Linked DNA regions of Homo sapiens: all the other regions are linked to region 1. Evidence: promoter capture Hi-C in 16 types of primary human blood cells and fetal thymus (Javierre and others, 2016). All regions are on one chromosome and are shown on one strand. The core of a region is centred on a gene start or on the middle of the fragment in contact, and the rest is flanking DNA. Distances in the headings are between cores, read along the strand shown.

Evidence for each region. The method cuts DNA at HindIII sites, captures the fragments that hold promoters and counts their contacts. A CHiCAGO score of 5 or more calls a contact.
Region 2: a fragment that was not itself captured here is called in contact with the fragment with the promoter of SIX4 in region 1 in 1 of 17 cell types (endothelial precursors); the score reaches 5.2 in endothelial precursors.
Region 3: a contact is called between a fragment that was not itself captured here and the fragment with the promoter of SIX4 in region 1, in 1 of 17 cell types (erythroblasts). The highest score is 5.8, in erythroblasts.
Region 4: a contact is called between a fragment that was not itself captured here and the fragment with the promoter of SIX4 in region 1, in 9 of 17 cell types (endothelial precursors, megakaryocytes, erythroblasts and 6 more). The highest score is 14.5, in endothelial precursors.
Region 5: a contact is called between a fragment that was not itself captured here and the fragment with the promoter of SIX4 in region 1, in 1 of 17 cell types (endothelial precursors). The highest score is 5.6, in endothelial precursors.

The regions. Positions count from the first base shown.
Region 1 is chr14:60,722,709-60,725,906 of GRCh38, forward strand. It overlaps SIX4 (SIX homeobox 4), which reads right to left and starts at 1,643. Exons shown (of 3, transcript NM_017420.5): 1 at 504-1,643. The coding sequence starts at 1,366. RefSeq lists a silencer at 1,056-1,125. The HindIII fragment of the contact is 4,809 bases long and covers 1-2,349 here.
Region 2 is chr14:61,164,384-61,167,581 of GRCh38, forward strand. No RefSeq gene overlaps it. Among named protein-coding and RNA genes, the nearest start is that of TMEM30B, 120 kb to the right of the region's middle. The HindIII fragment of the contact is 2,576 bases long and covers 477-3,052 here.
Region 3 is chr14:61,088,176-61,091,373 of GRCh38, forward strand. No RefSeq gene overlaps it. Among named protein-coding and RNA genes, the nearest start is that of SLC38A6, 110 kb to the left of the region's middle. RefSeq lists enhancers at 850-1,351, 2,415-2,554. The HindIII fragment of the contact is 212 bases long and covers 1,604-1,815 here.
Region 4 is chr14:61,025,655-61,028,852 of GRCh38, forward strand. All of the region lies in intron 5 of SLC38A6 (solute carrier family 38 member 6), which reads left to right. Among named protein-coding and RNA genes, the nearest start is that of SLC38A6, 46 kb to the left of the region's middle. The HindIII fragment of the contact is 1,685 bases long and covers 845-2,529 here.
Region 5 is chr14:61,004,810-61,008,007 of GRCh38, forward strand. The region is part of intron 3 of SLC38A6 (solute carrier family 38 member 6); the gene reads left to right. Among named protein-coding and RNA genes, the nearest start is that of SLC38A6, 25 kb to the left of the region's middle. The HindIII fragment of the contact is 2,906 bases long and covers 168-3,073 here.

The DNA.
Region 1 (3,198 bases), core at 393-2,892:
GGGGCGGCTGAACCCTGGGGATCCGGGAGCGTGCGCGCGCGCCAGGCCCGGTGTGACCTCGCGGAGGTGCAGACCCCGGCCGGCGCCGGCAGTCTCTGCGGGCCTCGGGCGGCAGGGAGAGCTACGGTGCCGGTGTCCACATTTGCTTCGTTAGCCCCTCCAGAAACGGGGAGAGGGTGGCAACTTCAAAGCCAGCGGGATGGGGGTGGGAAGCTGGGCAGCAGTGACCAGCCGAGGTGGGGGCGGGGACTGAGACCTAGGCGGGCGACCAGAAACTTCTGGGGGGAGAGGGGGAGGGTAAGGAGGGAGGTTCCCCCGCCCCCCGCCTCCGCCGCCCCCTACCTCTGCCGGCCGGGGAGCGAGGTAGGGGGCGGGGAGAGGTGGGCAGCCGGACCAGGCTGGTGGGGAAGGTAAGCGCCATGTTTGCGAGCACTTGGAGGAAAAGAAAGCCGGGAAGGGGGTGGGGGAGAGGAAGGGGGAGGAGGAGGAAAGTTGGCGCTCACCTTTTGGACTGGGTCTCGGAGGGGTTCCTGTCGCGCTGCCGGCGGTTCTTGAACCAGTTGCTGACCTGGGTGAGGGAGAGGCCGGTGATCTTGGCCAGGTGCCGCTTCTCGGCGGGCGAAGGGTAGCGATTCTGCTTGTAGAGCTCCTTGAGCGCGTTGCGCGACTTCTCCTTGAAACAATACACCGTCTCCTCGCCGTCCCAGATGGTGCGGGGCAGGGGGAATTTCCTGCGCAGCCGGTACTTGTCTACGGCTCCCAGCGGCCGGCCGCGGGCTCGCTCGGCCTCGGTGTAGCGCGCCTTGTACCAGAGCTGCTGCAGCAGCGGGTGGTTGGCCGACTCGAAGCTGTGGCTCTCGAGGATGCTGTAGAGCTCGGGGTAGATGCCCTGGTGGAAGGCCACGAGCGCCCGCGCCTTCAGCAGGCTCTCGTTGCCACGTAGCAGGTCGCTCTGGGGCAGGGACCACAGGAACCGGGCCAGGCGGTCCAGGTTGCCCCCCTGCTGCAGTGCCTCGCACACGCAGGCGACGTGGTCGGGCGAGAAGGCCAGCGGGGTCTGCGCGGCGGCGGCGGCGGCGTGGTGGTGCCTGCCCAGAAGTTCCGAGTGGAGTTGTACCTGATCCGCCGCCGCTCCGGCCGCCGCCGCCGCCACTGCCCCTTCCTCTCCGCTCACCCTGGCGGCAGCGGTCGCGGCGTCCCCCGGCTCCAGGGGAAAAGGGGCTGGAGCCGGGGGGCTCAGCCCTACCGCCGCGCCCCCCGCCACTTCTCGGTGCGCCTCCTGCCCTTCCGAGGCGCTTTCCATCCCATTCTCTTGCTTGATGTCCGCCGCACTTGCGATCTGCCCGGTGGGGGAGGAAGAGGACATTTTTTGTTGTTTATTTTCCTCCCTCCCTCACTCCCTCGCACTCTTTTCCTCTTTCTTTCCTCCTCTCTTACTCCTCCTCCTTCGTCTCCCTCCCTCCTCTCCCCCTCCGGAAAGCCCACTCCCTCCCTCCTGGTTTCGGCTGTATCTGGCCGATCAGGTTTCCCCCCGGCCACGCAGTCACCATTAAGATAGCTGTTAGAGCAAAGTAGTGTAAACGGATAGCTGCTTTCTGCCGTTCCCCCAACGTGACTCCTCCGGTTGCTGCATACTATATGGCAGTGGCGGCCGGGCCGGCCCGGCCTAGCCACCTCATTGGCTATTTCGCATTCAGAGGGAGGAGGAGACACAGTTTCTATCCCTGTCGATCACCCGCCTCCCACTCCACCCCTCGCCTTTCCCTCCCCTCCTGACCCCCAGGCACCTATACCTGAAGGAAAACACCGACATTCTTTCCAAGCCACGCTCCTGGGCGGGAAATTACCTAATGTGGCCTGAAAACTGGACAACTCTTTCAAACAGAGGCCCTACAATTCCAGAGGGAATATTAATTGTGTGGCCTTAAGGTCTGGATGGTTAAATTTTTAACAAAGAGACCACCCTCAGCATCTAGATGACAAAACTTCAGAGGACAATTCAGAAGCCCCCCAGTATGTCCCTGTTCCCCATTCTCCCTCTTTTTGGATGTCTTTATCAAGGATTTTGTATTCAAAACGGTCAAAAATAAAATGACACTAGGAAATGTTCTAAGGGGCAAGCATTTACAGTAAATTAAAATTCCAAAGAGGGAAAAATGCTTGAAAACCTTATAATTAGCAGCATAAATAGCACACTGAGAAGACAAAAACAAGAAGCCTTCAAAAAATGTACTTAACCTTAAGCCACGTGGAGGGCTGGCAACCCAACTGAGTTGAACATGGTATAATTAAACATGTAGAATATTAAACCATAAGTTTATCCTGGATGAGTCGTGTGGAAGAGATCTAAGCTTTAAATATGGAAATTTAAGTTTTCTACATGAACTTTTTAATGTAAGTATATGAGTATTTCTTTTTTAACGATGATAGGCTAGAAACACTGAATGTGCGGGTGTCATCCAGATCAGTGCAGGATCAGAAGCCCTTTTCCACAGCATAGACAGATTGCCCTCTGGTTTGATGCTGAAGTGGGGGTAGAGTCTTTTGTTGTTTGCAGTTGTGTCTCTTTCCTTTGTAATTTGCACAAGATCTTAATTCCAAAAGGGATGATCCATTTCTGCTTCTTTGATTACTGTAGGTCAGTTGGGTTTGCCTGCTGCTGCTCTTTCTCAAAATTCAACTTTTTTTCCCCCCGAGATGGAGTCTCGCTCTGTCGCCCAGGCTGGAGTGCAGTGGTGTGATCTCGGCTCACTGCAAGCTCCGCCTCCTGGGTTCACGCCATTCTCCTGCCTCAGCCTCCCGAGTAGCTGGGACTACAGGCGCCCGCCACCACGCCCAGCTAATTTTTTTTTTTTTTTTTTTTTTGTATTTTTTAGTAGAGACGGGGTTTCACCACGTTAGCCAGGATGGTCTCGATCTCCTGACCTCGTGATCCGTCCGCCTCGGCCTCTCAAAATTCAACATTTTAATGACATCATCCTAACCTTTGCTTCAGGGTGGCCTTGTATTGTGTATGCTTCCCAGCTACTCATAGCTGCCTACTTCAGCATATTACAAAGCAGCTGTCTAGGTCACCTGCCGTCATGATAAACTTGGTGAGATTTTCTTTTTTTTTGTAGACAGGCTTTATTTTATTGCTGGTCAATCAAGATGTCATTTGATGTAGGATTTAACTTGTTTTTGCATTACCCTAATGTG
Region 2 (3,198 bases), core at 515-3,014, 440 kb after region 1:
AAAAAAAAGAAAAGAAAAGAAATATAAGGGGAAAGAGCCCAATAAAAAGAAAAGAATAGGCAAATGATTTGAACAAACACTTTACCAACAGTGAGATATGGGTGGTTAAAAACGGAACAGAACAAAACAGAAACAGACCAAAAAACAAAAATTACTTACTATCATTAATCATTAGGAAAAAACAAATTAAAACCCCAATCAGATACCATTACACACCTGTTTAAATGGCTTAAATAGTTCTTTATATATTCTGGCTACAATCTTTTATAATATATACGTTTCACAAGTATTTTCTCCAACTCAGTGGCTTGCTTTTCATTTTCTTAACAGTGAATTTTGAAGAGCTAAAGTTTATGATTTTAAAGAAATCCAGTTAATTAATTTTTATCTTTCAAGGTTTGCACTTTTTATATCCTGTATAATAAAGTCTTTGTGTTAACCCAGTTCAATTTTTTAAAAACATATTTTCTTCTAGAAGCTTTATAGTTCGGCTCTTACAGTTAGTTCTATTATCCATTTATGTAAATAAATTGTGTATAACATGTGAGATTAGGGTAAAGAATCATTTTATTTTCTTATGGACATCCAGTGGCTTTTTGAAAAGACTTTCCTTTCCCTATGGCATTACATTGGCACCTTCACTGAAAATCAATTGACAATATATGTGTGGATCTATTTCTAGGCCCCCATTCTGTTCCACAGATCTATCTGTCTATCCAACACCACATTGCCCTAATTATGTAGCTTTGTGATAAATCTTAAAATCAGGCAGTGTAATTCCTCCAACTTTTATCTTTTTCAAAATAATTTTGCATTTTAATAAAAACATTTAAATAACTATTGATTTCTATAAAAAATCTGTTAGAATATTGATTTGGATTGTGTTGAGTCTATACATTAATTTGGGAAGAACTGAGATTTTAACATTATTGAGTTTTCTGACTCATAAATGTGGAATATCTCTCTATTAACCTGTCTTTCTTTAATTTCATTCCATGAAGTTTTATGTTTTAGTATCCAGGTGTTGCACACATTTTGTTAAATTTATACCTAGGTATTTTCATGTTTTTAGATGCCATTGTGTTACATTTTATTTTATTTTATTTTTCTTTTGAAACAGAATCTCACTCTGTTGCCCAGGTTGGAGTGCAGTGGTGCAATCTTGGCTCACTACAACCTCCGCCTCCCGGGTTCATGCCATTCTCCTACCTCAGCCTCCCGAGTAGCTGGGACTACAGGTGCCCGCCACCATGCCCAGCTAATTTTTTTTATTTTTAGTAGAGACGGGGTTTCACCATGTTAGCCAGGATGGTCTCGATCTCCTGACCTCGTGATCTGCTTGCCTCGGCCTCCCAAAGTGCTGGGATTACAGGCGTGAGCCACCACGTCCAGCCCAAATGTTATATTTTAAATTCTCAAGTCCTAACTCTTTGTGACTGTGATGGTTAATACTGAGTGGCAACTTGTTTGGATTGAAGGATGCAAAGTATTTTTCCTGGGTGTGTCTGTGAGGGTGCTGCCAAAGGAGATTAATATTTGAGTCAGTGGACTGGGAAAGGCAGATCCACCCTTAATCTGGGCGGTAACAATCTAATCAGCTAATCTAATCAGCTAATCTAATCAGCGGCCAGTGTAGCCAGAATAAAAGCAGGCAGAGGAACGTGAAAACATTAGACTGGCTTAGCCTCCCAGACTACACCTTCCTCCCGTGCCAGATGCTTCCTGCCCTTGAACATTGGACTCCAAGTTCTTCAGCTTTGGGACTCGGACTGGCTTCCTTGCTCCTCAGCTTGCAGATGGCCTATTGTGGGACCTTGTGATCGTGTAAGCCAATACTCCTTAATAAACTCCCCTTTATATATGCATCTATCCTATTAGTTCTGTCCTTCTAGAGAACCCTAATATAGTGACCAAAAAAAGATACAATTGATCTTTGTTTAATAAACTTGCATATTTCAACTTTTCTAATCTTACTTATTCATTCTTGTAACCTATTTGAGAATTCTTTAGGATTTTCCATGTAGATAATCATGTTGCCTACAAAGGAAGAAAGTTTTACTTCCTCTTGTCCACTGGCCATGCTTCCTCTACCCCCTGCCTCCACCCTACCCAACCTCCGCCCCATTTCCAGGATCTCCAGTACAGTGATGAATATAAGTAGTAAGAGTAATAAGATAGGACATAATCCTAGAGGAAAGCATTCAGTCTTTTACAACTAACTATAATGTTACCTGTAGGTCTTCCATGCCTGATTTTTGATCAGAATGAAGAAATTCCCATCTATTCCTGGTTTGCTGAGCTTTTATCATGAATCGAAATTGAATTTTGTCAAATGCTTTATGTGCATCTATTGAGATAATTAGTCAATTTTACTTTTTCAGTCTGTTAATATGGTGAATTACACTAACAGTTTTTAGTATTAAACCAAACTTACATTCTGAGACAAATACCAACCACTTGGTCATGATGTATTACCTTTTTTATATATTACTGGATTTGATTTGTTCAAATCTGTTAAATTTGGGTGTGGGGGCTATGTCATGAGAGAAATTTATTTTTAGTTTTCTTTTTCTGTAATGTCTTTGGTTTTGGTATCAGGGTAAAGCTGGACTCATAAAATGAACTGGGAAGTATTCCCAGTTGAATTGGTAATAGTTATACCTTAATGTTAAGTTCACCACTGAAGTCATCAGATCCTTCTTTGTGAGAAGGATAAGTACAAATCTAATTTCCTTAACTGATAATGGATTACTATCTATTTCTTTTTGAATGAGTTTCAAATAGTAAATGAGAAACAAATGGGCAAAAGATTTGAACTGCCAGTTCACCAAAGAAGATATCCAAATGCTAAATAAGGACATGAAAAATGCTCATTCATCATTAGGGAAACACAAATTAAAAACACAATGAGGTACCATTACATGCATTAGAATGGCTAAAATTAAAAATATTTATAATACTACACATTGGTGAGGACATGGAGCACCTGGAACTCTCTTACATTACTAATGGGAAATGTGATATGGTGCAGTCCTTTGAATAACAATTTAAAAGCTTTTTATAAAATTTAATATATACTTATCATATGACCCAGTAATTCAATTCTTAGATATTTACATTAGAGAAATAAAAACATGTGTTCACCCAAAGATATGTACATAAATGTTCATAGCAATTTCATCTCCAGTAGCTAAAAGC
Region 3 (3,198 bases), core at 460-2,959, 370 kb after region 1:
TTCAGGTTTTTGATTCATACTGCCAAATTTCTTAACCTCTCCCTCAAAAAACTTGTGACAATTTATACTACCATCAGTCATATGCCTTTATGACAATGTTGATTTCCAGGCATACTACCAACTTAGATTATTATCTTTGTGAAATTTTTGAGTTATTACTTATGTTCAGTGACTTTGTAAATATTTGTTAGCTGTTTGTGATTATTGCTTTGTGAGTGACTGCTATTGTCTTTTGTTCATAATTCTTTTGAGGGAAAGGAACATACTTTTTATTTAATTTATAAGAGCTCATAATTTTATTTATATTTATATATATAAGTATATATATATATATGTGTGTATATATATATATGTGTGTGTGTATGTATATATATATATATATATATATATATATATATGTGTGTGTGTGTGTGTATATATATATAATTTTTTTTTTGAGATGGAGTCTCTGTCTGTCACCCAGGCTGGAGTGCAGTGGCATGATCTCAGCTCATTGCAACCTCCACCTCCCAGGTTCAAATGATTCTCCTTTTATATTAAGGCATCTATCTGTCTAACATCTGTGGATCTATACATCATATATATTAAGGTATAATGGCCATGTATATTGCTATTTTCCCCCAATTTTTATTTGTGTTTTTGCTTTGTTTATTCTATTCTGAATTTTTTCCCCATTTGTATATAGTCTATTAAACAATGCTTTATAGTTTCTGTCTTTGGTTGATACTTCAAAATAACTTTCCCGTCCCAAAATGGTAACAGTATTTACATTTTTTACTGGTACTCTTATGTGTTTTTTTTTAATAAAATAATCATATAGAACTAATTTTGTTTTAAGGTACGAGGTACTAGCTAACATTTTCTTCAGAGTTACTAAATTCTTAAGTATGTTTGAATTTGTGAACTCTGTATTTCTGAACTTTTCTTAATGTCTCCTTAATCTATGCTAGGGCTAAATTACTCAATTAATTAAACAATTTCAAGATTTCAGAAGTTTTAATATTTAATGAGAAGTCTTCAGCCTTGGGGTAGAATGTTGTTGCTTGTTACTTAGTGCTGGGGAGTCAGGGGTGCGCTTGATCCTAGTACACTCTCAGGCTTTGGCAGGCCCTGTATGCCTGGATCTTAGGAGTAAGGCTTTCTCAGAAATCCTGCCCCTCCTCCTCCTCCTCCTGTGGCAGCTGAACCCTGCCTTGTGTCATGTGCAGGAGAGAATGTCTGGATCTGGGGCTCAGGACTGTTTCTTGCCCGTTCCCCAGGGATCAAGGGTGTTTTGGCTTTCCCCTTCCCCAAGCTGCAGTAGGTCTTCACCTGTGCCCTGACTGCAACAGGCTGTACTGTCCCTCCCCAGTGGCTTAGGTGGGAGGAGGGTGTGGCTGTAGCCTTATGCCTTTCCTTCAGCAATGTTGCCCCTCTTTCCTGGGCCTGCACTGTGCAGGGAGGCTTCTTTGCTCTCCCACCCTGCCTTCAGTCCTTTCTCAATCAGTAGGTGGAAGGGAGTGGAGAAGAGCCTGCAAGTGGGCACCAATTCCTCTTGTGTCTGCAGCCCCCAGGGGTGCTACACTCATGCTAGTCTGCTTCTGGCCTTTAGTAATTTGTTAAAAGCTTTAGATGAATTCTTTTTATGTTTTTGTATGGCACCCAGTGTTTCTTCCCATACTCAGCCACATCTCTTCTTGGGGACGCAGCCTTTCCTTAGATTTCAGGCTTTTGGGTTCCGTGTGATCTCAGCTTTCTGGTGGACTCAAGAAAAGGTATGGGTTTTTGGTCATCTGACTTTATTGTTGTTGTTAGGGTGGGAGAGACACTATTTTAAGCTTTCTTTATAGTAAGCAGGAGGGGAACTCCTGTGTTTTCATAGCTAATCAAGCATGGACCCTGCCCTTATTCTCTTTTTAAAAATTTTCTTGGCTATTCTCACATATCTGTTCTCTTAAATATACTTTAGAATCATTTGCTCAAGTACCTCAAACCCAAACACCTCCAAAAGAATTCCTTTTGGATTGACATGGTATCAAAATATGTAAACTGACTTCAGTCCCAGATGTTGTCGAAACTTCATTCCCAAGATCTGAATAGAGCAGTCAGAGCGGATTGTGATTGAAAGACCACCTCCAAGGCCAGCCTGCCTCTAAATCCCACCTGTTTTGTTTTGGTGTCTTGAAATTCCAGCATTAGAGTGCAGAAAAATAGTTCTAGGACCTTAGAGGATGAAAATGTATGCAGTTTGTGTTGGAAGGACCAGCATAATAACTAATGTGCAACCATCACTGCACTTACAAATTAAGGTCACAGATCTAGACAAAGTATTGTGTGAATTAAGTGAGTCAGTGAGTGAGTGAGTATGGAGAGGGACTCTGTTAAGAACAGGGGAGCTAGAGGGGAAATGACTGGATCTGGAACTGAGAGCACCCGAGTAGCTGAGAATGCGGACTCTAAATCTTCTGGGGACAAGAGGAGAGGAGCAAAAGCCCCACAGCCACCTCTGTGGTTGTCACACTTCAATCTGGCAGCTAGAGAAAAGCCCGAACCAGGCCAGGTAAGGCTCCCCTCAAGGACTATGTAGATTGTGTGCTACAGGCAAAAAAGGGGAAAACCCTCCAAGAGGATCCAGCAGTGATCACAGCTATTGATTTGTACTCCCACGGCCCTTGCGGCCATGCATCTCTTAAAATCAAATGAAACAACCATCAACAATTGTGGTAAGAATTTTCCAGTAGGAGAAATAGAGAAAGGAAAAAAAATTCTGAGAAAACAAAACAAAACCCTTCTTGATGTTTTCCACAGACTGCTTTAGAAAGAGAAAGACTGATGCAATCCAATCAAGGACAGTGATCCTCGGTTGACCCAGGATATTTCACAGACCCAGAATGCAGAAGGCACAGACGCCCACAAGCAGGCCTCAGTTTTGACTTCTTAAATGCAACCATTTTTTGTAAATTAATATTGAATTTTCAACCAACTCCAGCACCTCATTAAGGAGGGGCCTGTTCTTTGCCAAACTCTTCCAAGGGAACCTGCTGGGTTTGAGTGTAGGTGTCAGCAAACATTTCCCAGTATGTTCTAATGGGGAAATATTTATTTTGTAACACTCCTTCCTAACCGAAAATACAATTATGTGACATGTTTTATATGACCAAGGGGATTTGGGCTAAGATTTTGTATCCATAATGTGCCCTAATATTGAGAAATATCATT
Region 4 (3,198 bases), core at 437-2,936, 300 kb after region 1:
GTCATTTTTTAATCAAATTTAAGATCCTGAAAATGATAAGACAAAGATATACATTTTTTTCTAGGGTCATGGGGGAGCATTTTCCCCCATATATTTTGATTTTCATTTATGCATGTGTTCTGTACTATTTGAGTGCATATAGAACTTCAGTGGCATTTAGATATTTTGTGGGACCACCAGATTAATGAGACACATTGAATAGAATAAACCAGTTAGTATCCATGACTAAAAACATGTTTGAAATAAAATTGAATCTCTCTGAGACAGAAAGGCAAACTTATTTTTTCCCCGTAGCACATCCGTTTGTTTAGGGCTGAGTAATCCTTTAAGAATTGCTGAACTTCCCCCAAGTGCTGAAAACCTAATTCTGTTTTAAAAATAGCTGTAAGTAATTCTGTCCTCATACATATATTTTACATGTTTAACAAAAAAGATTCTTATCTTCATAAACTGTAATGATGTCTTAGGCCCAAACTCCAATTAGGGTTGGTTTGTTTTTTTTAAGTTTGTATGCTTAATAACGACAACTTGGGAAGCATTTTCAGAGTGCTGCGAAAAATAACTCATAAGAATACAGTATTTGGAAGCACAGAGACTGATTTTTATTTTTTGGATTTCAGTGGAGTGTTAATATTTCAAATACGTGAGAATAGGAAACTTCCTCTTCAGAACTACAATCACAGCCGTAAATACAGTAGAGTCATAGCAGTAGATGCAATAGAATCTCATCATGAAACTCCATGAATTTTGAACTAATCACATCACCAAAGGAGCTCCAATACTGAAAAATGAAATACATTGAAAATATATCTCAAGATGAAATGAAAATTCTAAGTGTTACTAAAGCTTCTGACTAATGTTCTCTGTGATATTCATTTCCTTTGAAGTCAACTGTTAATCTCAGCATTCAAAAGTAGTTTGTTTAAATACTGATTTAAAAAAGAAAAATAATTCTGAAGAGTGGTACTTCTGGTAGACTTTCCTTATTTGTCTTTGTTTTGTTGGTTTACTTTTTCACTTTGCTCCTGCACTTTCTCATGGCATACTAGTTAATAGAACGAGTTTCTCAACCCAGGCGGGCTGTTTGCACCATCACTAGCTTGGGCAAGTTACTTCTTTGTGCTTCCTTATATTCTGTGAAATAAGTAATATGTACCTCACAGGTTTGTGTAAAGATTAAGTGAGGAAATAACTTGTGTAGAATACTACCAAGCATACAGTAGGCATCTAAAAAACAAAGATGTTAGCTGTTTTCATGGATCTCTGCCCAGAGTCCCTTCCCTGTTTCTGTGTTTCTAACATCTCTCCTCTCAACCTCCCGGGCCCAATTCATTTATTTCACTTTATAATTAGATCAGCAGATATTAACACCTTGCAACTTGCTATTACCTAATCAGATTTTACCCCATTTTAGTCACTTTTTAATATTACTGTTGCTTCTCCATGTTGTTTTTAAAGAGTGCTTTCAACTTCTGTGTTTTCAGTTGACAGATGTTTTATTTTTTCCCAGAGAAGTTTCTATTAAATGAGTTATATTAGTTTAAAATTAAGTAGAAAAGAATACCTATTTAGTTAATGTGCTAAAACTAAGTGATTTATAATGGCTGAATACCTGACATCAAGGTATATCTTCTGGCACTGATTTTGGCTTTGGTGGTTTGGGGCCACTTAACTATATGCATGGCTCTTGTGGATGACCCAGTTGCAGCTATTAATTTAGAGTAGAACATGGTGTGTCTTGTTTTAGGAATCTATACTAGGTGTCCATGTCACCCAAAATCATTTGCAAATTTTTGCTTATGATTGGTCTGTAAGATAAGTGCTTAAACACTTTCTTATGCCATTTATAAAAGACATAAGACAAAAACTGTGGCAGACAGCTATTTGATCTAGTAAACCTTTTAGTTAAAAACAAAGGCAATATGAGCATTCCTATCAATAGTATATCTTTAAAACTTTTCCAGTTCATTTTATTGAGCTGATTGTTCTTTTGTATGAATTTAATTAAGATATATTTCCTAACTTAATGTGTATTTGGTAATCTTTTTGTTTCTTTTCTGTATTATATATAATATAATGTGTTAAAGTGCTAGCTAGTTCTTACATGAAAGTTTACTTGTGATTAAGAAAAAAATAATTTTCATAGTGAATAGAATGGTGGTGGCCTTTGTTTTACTGGCTTAATCCGTGTGGGTTTTCCCCTATAGTAAGTTCTGTGGTTGTATACTCTTAAAATATATACTAACATTCTCTAGAAAAGAAGCAATGTTTTGCATGTTTTATTATATTTGTATCTTGTATGTGAGGTCTTCTTTGAGAGAGAAACACGTTTGGTGAGTTCATATTTCTTAAAATATACATGATTCTTCAGACTGGAATCTAATGAAATAGTACTCCCATTTGAAAACCAAAGAGTTGAGGGTACAACAAAGGATAAAAGTGATCAGATGATTAGCCAGGGGCTAATAGAAATTCTGGAAAGAATGACAGATATTATATTAGAAAGAAATAGGATCTCATATTCACTGAAGCTTTCTACAGCTAAAGGTCCAAAAGAAATAATAGAAAATTACTGAAAGAGATGAATGTCTGAAACTTTAGAAATGCATGTGGTGTTGGATTAATCCAAGCAAGAAAGAAAGATGGGCAGATAATAAATTACATTTTATAGGAAGTCTGCTTTCCTTGTTTTCAAAGTATTTTGTCTTTTTTCTTTTCTGTCTCTCTCACAAGATATATTTAAGTAAGTCTAGGCCGGTTTCAGAAAATTCAGTTCACAATTTTTATCTTTGCACCATATGTGTAGAGTTCTTTGGAATCGGTAAAATATTATAAAAACTCCAAATCCTTGAATGGAGAAGGTTAGTCTAAACCTTCCTTCTGTTCTGTGCCAAATTGATAGCATTTTTCCTTACGAGAATATGAACAATACAGAACACATTTTCACATACAATCAGTTGTAATACCCCATAACTAAAAGATTTTGCAGAAATGTCTCAGTGGATTTTAGTCAACCCACTGAGACATAGCTGTACTTCTGCTAGGGAAAAAGAAATCGTTGTAAACTGAAAAAATATGTATATGTATATTTTCATCACAGAGAAGTGATTATTTAACTGTTCTAAATTTTACTTTGACATAAATACATGTTATTTTACTAAAAAAAATTGAGAGTGTATGTTTTTGTGTCTATAGTAT
Region 5 (3,198 bases), core at 371-2,870, 280 kb after region 1:
AGAGGGAATCCTCCCTAACTCATTGTATGAGGCCAGCATCATCCTGATACCAAAGCCAGGCAGAGACACAACCAAAAAAGAGAATTTTAGACCAATATCCTTGATGAACATGGATGCAAAAATCCTCAATAAAATACTGGCAAACTGAATCCAGCAGCACATCAAAAAGCTTATCCACCATGATCAAGTGGGCTTCATCCCTAGGATGCAAGGCTGGTTCAATATACGCAAATCAATAAATGTAATCCAGCATATAAACAGAACCAAAGACAAAAACCACATGTTTATCTCAATAGATGCAGAAAAGGCCTTTGACAAAGTTCAGCCCATTCATGCTAAAAACAATAAATTAGGTATTGATGGGACGTATCTCCAAATTAGAAGAGCTATCTATGACAAACCCACAGCCAATATCATACTGAATGGGCAAAAACTGGAAGCATTCCCTTTGAAAACTGGCACAAGACAGGGATGCCCTCTCTCACCACTCCTATTCAACATAGTGTTGGAAGTTCTGGCCAGGGCAATCATGCAGGAGAAGGAAATAAAGGATATTCAATTAGGAAAAGAGGAAGTCAAATTGTCCCTGTTTGCAGATGACATGATTGTATATCTAGAAAACCCCATTGTCTCAGCCCAAAATCTCCTTAAGCTGATAAGCAACTTCAGCAAAGTCTCAGGATACAAAATCAATGTACAAAAATCACAAGCATTCTTATACACCAATAACAGACAAACAGAGAGCCAAATCATGAGTGAACTCCCATTCACAATTGCTTCAAAGAGAATAAAGTACCTAGGAATCCAACTTAGAAGGGATGTGAAGGACCTCTTCAAGGAGAACTACAAACCACTGCTTAATGAAATAAAAGAAGATACAAAGAAATGGAAGAACATTCCATGCTCATGGGTAGGAAGAATCAATATCATGAAAATCGCCATACTGCCCAAGGTAATTTATAGATTCAATGCCATCCCCATCAAGCTACCAATGACTTTCTTCACAGAGTTGGAAAAAACTAAAGTTCATATGGAACCAAAAAAGAGCCCGCATTGCCAAGTCAATCCTAAGCCAAAAGAACAAAGCTGGAGGCATCACGCTACCTGACTTCAAACTATACTACAAGGCTACAGTAACCAAAACAGCATGGTACTGGTACCAAAACAGAGATATAGATCAATGGAACAGAACAGAGCCCTCAGAAATAATGCCGCATATCTACACCTATCTGATCTTTGACAAACCTGAGAAAAACAAGCAATGGGGAAGGGATTCCCTATTTAATAAATGGTGCTGGGAAAACTGGCTAGCCATATGTAGAAAGCTGAAACTGGATCCCTTCCTTACACCTTATACAAAAATTAATTCAAGATGGATTAAAGACTTAAACATTAGATCTAAAACCATAAAAACCCTAGAAGAAAACTTAGGCATTACCATTGAGGACATAGGCATGGGCAAGGACTTCGTGTCTAAAACATCAAAAGCAATGGCAACAAAAGCCAAAATTGACAAATGAGATCTAATTAAACTAAAGAGCTTCTTCACAGCAAAAGAAACTACCATCAGAGTGAACAGGCAACCTACAAAATGGGAGAAAATTTTCACAACCTACTCATCTGACAAAGGGCTAATATCTAGAATCTACAATGAACTCAAACAAATTTACAGGAAAAAAACAACCCCATCAAAAAGTGGGCGAAGGACATGAACAGATACTTCTCAAAAGAAGACATTTATGCAGCCAAAAAACACATGAAAAAATGCTCACCATCACTGGCCATCAGAGAAATGCAAATCAAAACCACAATGAGATACCATCTCACACCAGTTAGAATGGCAGTCATTAAAAAGTCAGGAAACAACAGGTGCTGGAGAGGATGTGGAGAAATAGAAACACTTACACTGTTGGTGGGACTGTAAACTAGTTCAACCATTGTGGAAGTCAGTGTGGCGATTCCTCAGGGATCTAGAACTAGAAATACCATTTGACCCAGCCATCCCATTACTGGGTATATACCCAAAGGACTATAAATCATGCTGCTATAAAGACACATGCACACATATGTTTATTGCGGCACTATTCACAATAGCAAAGACTTGGAACCAAGCCAAATGTCCAACAATGATAGAGTGGATTAAGAAAATGTGGCACATATACACCATGGAATACTATGCAGCCATAAAAAATGATGAGTTCATGTCCTTTGTAGGGACATGGATGAAATTGGAAATCATCATTCTCAGCAAACTATCCCAAGGACAAAAAACCAAACACCACATGTTCTTACTCATAGGTGGGAATTGAACAATGAGAACACATGGACGCAGGAAGGGGAACATCACACTCTGAGGACTGTTGTGGGGTGGGAGGAAGGGAGAGGGATAGCATTAGGAGATATACCTAATGCTAAATGACGAGTTAATGGGTGCAGCACACCAGCGTGGCACATGTATACATATGTATCTAACCTTCACATTGTGCACATGTACCCTAAAACTTTAATAATAATAAAATAAAATAAAATAAAAGAACAGACCAGATGCAGTGGCTCACACCAGTAATCCCAGCACTTTGTGAGGCCAAGGTAGGAGGATGGCTTGAGTCCAAGAGTTTGAGATTAACCTGGGCAACATAGTGAAACCCTGCCTATACAAAAAGTAAAAAATGAAAAGTTAGCCTGGGCCTGGTGTATTTGCATGTGCCTGTGGTCCCAGCAACTCCAGGGGCTGAGGCAGGAGGATTGCTTGAGCCCAGTAGTTCAAGGCTGCAGTGAGCTGTGATTGTGCCAGTGCACTCTAGCTTGGGTTACAGAGTAAGACCCTGTCTCAAAAAAATAAGAATGTACATATTTAATTGTAATATGAAACGGATGCTGAAAATGAACACCGATATAAGTGACATATCAGAGATGCTCTGGAGACTTGGTTCATATAATATGGAACAAAATTACCTTCTCAATGCCAAATTAGAAAATGATATGTACATAATTTTCAGGTTTAAAATATATATACCAAGGCTTTGGGATGTTAAATATAAGGAATGTTGCCCATGTATAACATTATCAATTAAGCTTAAGAATATTAAAGATTTGTTGATTAAAATAATTACTAATTTTTGTGATAGCTTTTACTTTAGAATATGTGATTTGAAAAAAAAGAATGTTGACATTTCACATAGTTGGAAAAAATTCTAG